Regions from separate parts of the Homo sapiens genome. Here region 1 is linked to region 2. Evidence: promoter capture Hi-C in 16 types of primary human blood cells and fetal thymus (Javierre and others, 2016). All regions are on one chromosome and are shown on one strand. The core of a region is centred on a gene start or on the middle of the fragment in contact, and the rest is flanking DNA. Distances in the headings are between cores, read along the strand shown.

The links. Contacts are between HindIII fragments. The CHiCAGO score rates a contact against its expected background, and 5 or more counts as called.
Region 1: a contact is called between a fragment that was not itself captured here and the fragment with the promoter of DBR1 in region 2, in 1 of 17 cell types (naive B cells). The highest score is 6.9, in naive B cells.

Annotation. Positions count from the first base shown.
Region 1 is chr3:138,947,782-138,952,578 of GRCh38, reverse strand. FOXL2NB (FOXL2 neighbor) reads right to left here. Exons shown (of 3, transcript NM_001040061.3): 2 at 2,940-3,059; 3 at 1-2,314. The coding sequence ends at 2,007. Among named protein-coding and RNA genes, the nearest start is that of FOXL2NB, 3.0 kb to the right of the region's middle. The HindIII fragment of the contact is 1,502 bases long and covers 2,027-3,528 here.
Region 2 is chr3:138,173,017-138,177,535 of GRCh38, reverse strand. It overlaps DBR1 (debranching RNA lariats 1), which reads left to right and starts at 2,615. Exons shown (of 8, transcript NM_016216.4): 1 at 2,615-2,937; 2 at 3,910-4,034. The coding sequence starts at 2,741. RefSeq lists an enhancer at 2,700-2,909. The HindIII fragment of the contact is 14,113 bases long and covers 1-4,519 here.

The sequences.
Region 1 (4,797 bases), core at 1,528-4,027, 770 kb before region 2:
CCAAGATTGCACCACTGCACTCCAGCTTGGGCAACAGAGTGAGACCCTGTCTCAAAAAAAAAAAAAGTGTTTCATAAAGTTATAGTGCACACATACACACACACATACACACACACACACACACACACCCTATCTTGGCATGAGGAAAATCTCCAAAGGTAGAACAGTAATACAAAACTCAGCCCTTCTCCCTCCCTTCCTCTGGACTTTGTGCCAGCTAGGCATCTAAAACTGCCTTCCTCCATGGCAGTTGCCTATCATCTTTAGAAAGTGCCCGCTTTGTGGGAGAAAATTGAGCCAGGAATGAGGACCAAGGGGGAAGGGCTCTCTCTGGCATCCCCTCATGGGTTAGCGTGCGGGTGGAGACTGCAGGCCTTACCTTGCAAGCCAGCTGCCCTGAATGCAGAGACTTCTCTGTTTCCAGTAAAGTCTAGTTTGAATGTTTCAGACAGGTCCTCACCATGACTGGGAACTAGGGAGGTGTCCTTGCCCTTGCCTAAGGTTCAGCACCATGGCCATGCAGCTATAATAACCCCAAATGGCAAAGAACTCTCAGATCCTGAGCTGGCTGTCAATGATCAAACCGCTTTTCCTCAGCTACAGTCCCTTTCTTGGAAATTCTAACTTCATTATAACTTCATTATAAGGAAAGTGGCATTTCCCAATTCTGTCCAGCAGAACCATTTTCTAATTCTATTAAAAGGCATTAAGCCCATCCTGGTGGGGAGCACTGAGTGAGAAGTGGAGGGCAGAGTCTCTGCCCATCAGCGCTTACAGTCTGGGTGTGGAGAAAGGCAACAAGGCAACTTTTAAGAACACATCATGTTCCCCAGCAAGCCTGAGGCCTACTGGCAAGGCACTCACTGTTCAGAGCTGAACAAAATGGCTTTGGGCCATAGATGTCATGAGGGATATCAGAGGAAACTTGTCAGCAGCTCCCACCACCCTAGAATCCGCCTCTGAGAGCATCCCACGGGTCTTTGGAGGGAAGAGGGCCTCACTTGGCCCAGGACCCAGACCCTTCTGCCTTTTTCCCAGTTGGCCTCCACCATGAAAAAGGCCGACAACTGCCCTGCATTCTGCCTGATTGACGATGGGGCACATACTCCTTGGGACAAAATGGTGTTGGAGGACTCATACCCCAACATCAGCAAGGTAAAGAGGAGCCCAGAGCTCTGGTCTACTGCCTCTCAAGCCCTTCCTGGGGGAGAAAGAGGGGAGCTCAGTGAGACACTTAACAACAGGAAACAGCTCTCATGTGTGAGTTCTTCCCAGAGTAGGAGGTCGCTTCTCTTTCCTCTTCCTCAATATCTCTCTCTCTCTCTCCACTCCCCTATTCTCTCCCAAGCACATATGTGAGTAACTGACTTTGCTAATCCCAACCAGGCAGACTAATACCCACTGGCTTCAGACCTGGTGCTATGTGGGTGTCTGCTGCTGCACCTTGTTGGTCTGAGCAGCAAACTCAGCAGAGTTTCGAGACAGAGATAAAGCCTGTGTGAGTGGCCTGTGCATGTTAAAGTGTATCTGGAACGTGCTCAGTACCTGAGCTTCTCTGTGGTCTGTGCGGCAGTCCCATCATGAAAACACCCAGGTGGCAGCCCAGTCACCCGAATCACAGGCCAAGGACATCAGAGAATCAACAGGCTTCTCGGAGTCAGGCTTGTAAACCTGGAGCCCATTGGTCCTTCTGCACCGTGAGATGCGAAAGTGAGCAGCGTGTGAAAAGCCTTAGGGTCTGCACATTGGCTTGACATGTTTTCCACCAACATGTGCAAAATCTGAATTAGTACGTGTAGCTGGTGAGTGTGAGAGAAGTAGGAGGGGAGGGAGAACTAGAGGGGATTTGGAGTTGACAGAGGGAGAAGGAGAGAGAAGTGGATGGAGTAACGTGACCTGAGTGGAGGGACACCGAGTCCCTGAGGTGTGGGTGCAAAGGGCCCTGTGAGGGGCCGGGAGGGAGTGAGTGCTGACAGTTGTTGAGGCGTGGAGTGTATGGGGATGTACTAATAGACACAGTGAAGCTTCCCTTTGCTAGCCAAGCACCGCAGAGGCCATCCCTCCAAGCAGAGGGTTGCAGCAAGCTCTATTCTCTCCCGCTCAGGAGCGGGAAGCCGCCGGGTGTTTCGGGGTCCCGCTAGGAAAGGGGACAGCGGAACCTGGTTCAGGCAGCCGGCGGCGGCGCGGGACGAGCTGAGTGGTTCTAGCGAAGCGCTGCCTGCCTCAGAGCAGCCGCGACGCTTCCCTAGTAGAGCTGGGCCGCCGGAAGCCCGAGGCGCGGGCGGCTTCTGCCGCTGTTGCAGGATTCCCGGCCCTGGGGAGAAAAGCGTCTGTATCAGAGCCGTGTAGATTGCTCGCGCCGGCTGTCGGGACCTCCGAGGCGCGGGGCCAGGCTGCGAGGAGGCGCGGGAGCTGAGACTGCGCTCAATCGGCGGTTCACTGGAACCGTATCCGCAGGCGGCGCTACGGTGGGACCACGGTCAGGAGGCGCCGGTGGCTGCTGAATTGCAGCTGCGGGACCCTGGAAAACTGGGGCAAAGAGGCAGTGAGTTCTGCCCAGCCCACCACCCTGGCCTTTGGAGGTGAGCGCCGCCCCAAGGTCACTAAGCCGGGGGCCCTGCGTCGCCCCAATGCCGCGGGGAGAAAAGGAACCGGCCCTGGCGTCCACAAAACCTAGGCACAGTATGCCCTGTTCAGAGAGGATCCCGACCTCGCCAGCAACCAGCCTACCTCCGAAGGTTGAGAAGTAAATCAGGGCGCCCCGCACCGTTTCCTGGAGCGCCCGGTTCACCCACCTCTGGCTGGGCCGGCAAGGAGAGGATTCTGTTCTCTCCCTAGATTCCTCTATCTCCAGCCCGAAGCCCCTGGCTTTTCCGCAGAAGCCTGGAGGGGACCTGAAAGTAATCATTCTGCCAGCTTTCCCGCCCGCATTTTCTTGCCTGTTTTCTGAGCCTTCGAATGCCGGACAGCCATGTGAAGGCACATCTTGGGGAGACCGATTCCAGCCCTTCCCAGGGTGCACGCATCAGGCATCCTCTTCTTCACCAGGGCTGGGGATTCTGTTCCTCTACGGGACAGTCAGAAATCAGTATTTTCAGAGCAGAACTCCTTTCTATTCTGAAAATCCTTCAGAGGAACTCCTTCATTTGCCCCCAACCCCTACACACACACACACACACACACACACGCACATGCATACACACACAGGCTCTTTAAAGGCTGAAAAGGGAGCCGAGTGTGGAATTCAGGGAAGTGATGACACACACAACAATGCTGTTACACCTGGCTGCTGCAGGGCTGAGCAGCGGAAATGCCTGTGAGAAGAAGAAAGAAAGACAGAGAGACGCAGAGAGCCAGCCTGGGTGGTCAAGAAAAAAAAAAAGGAGAGAAAAGGAGAGAGGAGCCCCCACCAGGATGGGGCCAGACCCAGCTGTTTTTCCCCCTGCCCAGGCCCTGGCTGGGGGAGGATAGGCACTGAGGCCAATCTGCAGCAGCCCCAAACCGGACTCACCACTCCCACCCAAAGCTTGGGCAAGGATGGGGGTAAGGAAGAAGAAAAACATCTGCACTCCTGCTCAGAAAGCAGCAGCAGGGATTCTGCGGAAGTGCTGCTTCCCCCATGTCTGTTGGGTGCAGTGGGAGACCGCCCATAAAAAAAACCAAGCTACTTTGGGGATAGCCTTGCTCCCTCTCATCCTTGTGACCAGGCAAGGGCTGCCCTGCTGACCTCTCTGGTGTCATCTTCAAGATGCTGAATTCCAAAGAGCCCTACCACCCTTGTCCTCCCTCCCTTTCATCTCAGAATGCAGATCAGAGGCCTGAGTGAGCAGCAGACAACACTTGTAGATGGCCTGTGGATGCTGGAACCACAGGCCGCTGAAGGCTCCTTGGGCTTCAGGAGAACCCTCAGAGTCTAAACAGCCTGGGAGGAAGAGGCAGTGACAGGCATTGAGTCAGCCACTCCAGACATGCCAATCACTAATGCACAGCTATATGACATCCATTCAGTCCACCTTCCTCCATAAGGTGGCCTTGCCCCCCTCCTCAGCACCAAGGAGTTTGGGGCTTGAGGATTCAAAACACTGGCCATCTCTCTCATACTTTATGACTGCAGACTTTTTGTTTAGGCCAAGTTAAAAGGCACTGTTAAGGAGCACACTGTTAAAAGGCACACCTGATTTTCCCTGAAACAATCTCTGTACATGCTGAAATAATTGGATTCCCATCAGAATTCTGCTTAAGGTAGGTGACAACTAACTCCTGATTCTTTGGAGAAAGATCAGAACAAATGTCTCATCAGGAGAGAGATTTGAACAAGTCCCTCCCTCAGCCTGATGTTTGTCTTCCCAGTCTGTGGCAAAATACATACACTGGGAGGGAAAGAGGCATCGAAGAATTGTGAAAGAAAGGAAGAAAGGGGGGAAGGAAAGAAGTAAGAAAGGAGAAAAAGAGAAGATGCTATATCCACCAGCTACATTTACTCTAATACTTGATGAACATATTACATAACTATCAGTATAAGTGTGTTTTACCTCGTAAATACAAATCTCACACCTTGTACATGTGCATACCTGTGTTTCTGAGCAGCACACATGCACCTGGTATCTCACCCATCTCAAGGACAGCTCCTCTCCATGACTTCCATATGTGACCCCTGTGCACACACATACACAGTCCCGCAAAGTCCCGGGCAACAGCCCCGCCTGTGTTAGTGCAATAGCTGAGGGGCATCTACTTGGTGCTGTTAAAGCACACATCCAACCTTCACTCCAACCCCGTAGGATTAGTACACGGATT
Region 2 (4,519 bases), core at 1,366-3,865:
AACGCCCTGCTAATTTTTGTATTTTTGGAGAGATACATGTTGGCCAGGCTGGTCTCGAACTCCTGGCCTCAAGTGATCTGCAAGGTACGGAGAGCATCAGGAAAAATAGCTAATGTATGCTGGGTTTAATACCTAGGTGATAGGTTGATAGGCGCAGTAAATCATCATGGCACACGTTTACCTGTGTAACAAATCTGCATAACCTGCACATGTATCCTGGAATATATATATATATATATATATACACACACACACACAAACGAGATATTTATTTATTTATTTATTCTTTTTGAGACAGGGTCTCACTCTGTAGCCCAGGCTGGAGTGCAGCAGCGCAATCTCGGCTCACTGCAACCTCCGCCTCCCGAGTTCAAACGATTCTCCCGCCTCAGCCTCCCAAGTAGCTGGGATTACAGGCATGCGCCACCACCCCCAGCTAAGTTCTTTATTTTTAGTAGAGACAGGGTTTCACCATGTTGGCCAGGCTGCTCTCGAACTCCTGGCTTCAAGAGATCCATCCACCTTGGCCTCCCAAAGTGCTGGGACAACAGGTGGGAGTCACCGCGGCCAAAAAACGAGATTTTTAAACTAAGAATCCAATGAAACAGAAACAGACAATAGAATCAGCTCTGCAGATAAGTAAGATATTGGGCTTAGAAGACAGGCAACCTAAAATAACAATGATTAATATATGAGAGAAAGAGAGGAAAAGATGAAGGAAATAAATTAAAAGATAAAGAATCTCTTTAAACTATTGGCTTCACTGGAAAAGAATCCAATATAAATCCTAAAATTGAAAAGGACTATAATGTTAAAACATTAATAAATGAGTTTGTACATTGGACATAGAACAAAATAGGATTAGTAAACTAGAAGAGAGGTTATTAGAAACTATCCAAAATAAAACACTGATAAAAATGAGAACTATGGAATAGAAATAAAAGATAGGTAAAATACCATGGAAAAATTCCAAAGGAGTAGGAAAAGACAGAAAAAAAAGCAACATTTAAGTAGATACTGACCAAGAATATTCCAAAACTGAAAAAAGATACCAAGCTATAGATTCAGAAAGCATAAATGAGTAAAGTTCAAAAAAAAAACCACCTAGATATATTTTATTAAAATAGCTTTAAGGAGTAGGGAGAGAAAGTAGAGAAAGAGAAAACAGTAAATAGCAAAGAAAAAGACACATTACTGGCTGGGCGCGGTGGCTAACGCCTGTAATCCTAGCACTTCGGGAAGCCGAGGTGGGCGTATCACTTGAGGTCAGGAGTTCGAAACCAGCTTGGCCACCATGGTGAAACCCTGTCTCTACTAAAAATGCAAAAAATTAGCTGGGCATGGTGGTGTGCACCTGTAATCCCAGCTACTTGGGAGGCTGAGGCAGGAGAATCGCTTGAACTGGGGAGGCGGAGGTTGCAGTGAGCCGAGATCGTGCCACTGCCTCCAGCCTGGGCAACAGAGTGAGAGACCGTCTCAAAAAAACAAAAAACAAACAAACAAACAAAAAACCCACATTACTTTCAGTGAAAAAAAACCTTAAGTTTATAGGTGACTTCTCAGTAGAAGATAATGCAAGCCAGAAGATAATAGAATGCTATTTTTGAAATGCTTTGTAAAAAAAAAACCACACACACACACACACACACACACACACACACACACTGCTTAACTGGTATTCGGTACTCAGTAAACACACCCTTTATGAATTAAGGTGAAACAAAGACATCTCTTTCTTTCTTTTTCTTTTTTTTTTTTTTAGACGGAGTCTCACCCTGTCACCCAGGCTGGAGTGCAATGGCACGATCTCAGATCACTGCAACCTCTGCCTCCTGGGTTCAAGCGATTCTCCTGCCCCAGCCTCCCAAGTAGCTGGGATTACAGGTGTGCGCCACCACGCCCAGCTAATTTTTTGTATCTTTAGTAGAGACAGGGTTTCACCATGTTGGCCATGCTGGTCTCAAACTCCTGACCTCGTGAGCCGCCCGCCTCTGCCTCCCAAAGTGCTGGGATTACAGGTGTGAGCCAGCACACTGGCTTCTTTTCTTTTCTTCTCTCTCTCTTTCTCTTTTGTCTCTTTTTTTTTTTTTTAGACGGAGTCTCGCTCTGTCGCCCAAGCTGGAGTGCAGGGGCGCGATCTCAGGTCACTGCAACCTCCGTCTCCTGGGTTTGAGGGATTCTCCTGCCTCAGCCTCTGAAGTAGCTGTGATTACAGACGTGCGCTACTGCGCCCAGCTAATTTTTGTATTTTTAGTAGAGACAGGGTTTCACCATTTTCCCCAGAGTGGAAAGAAATTTTTAAACAAACAAATATCTAGAAAAAAATTAATCTGTCGTCGGCCTACACTAAACAAACAGGAAAACTTAAACTGAGCTCTTCAGACAGAAGAAAAATGATTCCAAAGAGAAAAATGGAAATCCAGGAAGAAAAGAGTAAGGATGGAAAGAGTACATTTGTGGATGTATATACAAAAAAATATTGACTGCATAAAACAATAATTAAAAAAAAAGAAAAAAGGAAAAAAAGAAAATAAGTTCCCTGGGATCCCAGAATTAGGTTTGACCTTCCCGGTCCCTCTCTCGCGAGATCTGGAAACCGGAAGTGAATTATTTTGCAGGAGTCTACACCCAGGCGGTGGCTATACTTATTAAAGTTGGCGGGAGCTGAGCGATCAGTCGGTCCTGGGCTGGCTGTGGTGTAGGGCGTTGCAGGCAGCGCTCACCTCCTCAGGCCGGCAGAATGCGGGTGGCTGTGGCTGGCTGCTGCCACGGCGAGCTGGATAAGATCTATGAGACGCTGGCGCTGGCAGAGCGGCGCGGCCCGGGGCCTGTCGACCTCTTGCTGTGCTGCGGCGACTTCCAGGCGGTGCGCAACGAGGCGGATCTACGCTGCATGGCCGTGCCGCCCAAGTATCGTCACATGCAAACCTTCTACAGGTGAGGACGCGGCCGGGCCCGGACTTGGCGGTGGGGGGGTGGGACTGGGTTCCCTCTGCCACTGGCTGCCTGTTTCCCTTAGATCCTGTCTTTGTTCTCTCTGTATCTCTAATTGGTGCCTAACTGAATACAGGGGTGAGGTAGTGGGAGGCGGGAAATGTATTCAGTTCGGTACTGTATTCAGTTAGGTACCAAATTATGTCAGTTTCACTAGCACCCTATCTCATTAGGTGCTTAGGAAATGTCACTTTCCTTCTTTCCATACACATCTTATCCATTTCAAAGGGTGTCGAAGCCTGGGAGGGGATAACCTGGAGGAAGAAGCTGACAGGTTTAGATAGCTACCTTGTACTTGATAGGACTCTGGAATTAGTTCATTCAATGATCCTGAAGTTTTTACTGGGCCCCTGCTATGTGCTTGTTGTGGTTCTAGAAGATGAGGTTATGGCAATGAACTCGAAACAGTTCTTGACTTAATTGAACGGGCACTGACTTGAGGCTCAAGGTGGAAGCTCTTCATTCCTAAGGGCAAGGATGGATACTGGGCAATTCCTTTTTTTTTTTTTTTTTTTTTTCTTGAGACAGAGTTTCGCTTTGTTGCCCAGGCTGGAGTGCAGTACCGCGATATTGACCCACTGCAACCTCCGTCTCCTGGGTTCAAGCGATTCTCCCACCTCAGCCTCCCGAGTAGCTGGGATTACACCCAGCTAATTTTTGCATTTTTAGTAGAGACGGGGTTTCACCACATTGGCCAGGTTGGTCTCGAACTCCTGACCTCAGGGGATCCGCCTGTGTCGGCCATCAAAAGTGCTGGGATTACAGGAGGGAGCCACCGCGCCCAGCCCCAGGCAATTCCTTTTGAAAGAGCTTTTTAACTTTTTATGATGAACTCAGTTTCTTTTTTTTTTTCGGAACTTATTTGCTTTTCTGCTATGCCTAATTGTGGTAACTGACTTTGCTCTTATGTTCTAGGTATTACTCTGGAGAGAAAAAGGCTCCAGTTCTCACGCTCTTCATTGGGGGAAACCATGAAGCCTCAAATCATTTGCAAGAGTTACCCTATGGTGGCTGGGTGGCACCAAACATTTATTATTTAGGTATGTGATTGTGTTTGTGGATACTTTTTTTTCCTGGGATGGAAGAGCTTATCAGGATTTGCGTTAGTTGGACTGTGTCTTGACATGTATGGTGTTTGGAGAATGTCATTAATTTAAATACTTAATCGTGAAAATTTAATTAAGATAGTTAATTATTAAATGGTTGATCATGAAAATATGCCCTTCATCTAGTGTTTTAAGCACTAGCTAATATAATTGCAAAGACCTCACACACTATTTGTAGTCCCTTCATTTTTTCTTACAATTTTTATTGAATTAAAGACCTTAAACTTTTATTAATAGAAATTCTTAAGCATACACAAAAGTAGAGAATAGTATGATGAATCTCAGTACCTGTTAACCAGCTTCAACGACTATTATATTGCAATCTCCTGGATTTTTTTTTTTTTTTTTGTGGGAAGAGATGACTAGAGTATTTAAAGCAAGTCCAACCGTTAGATTATTTCACTTATACATATTTCAGT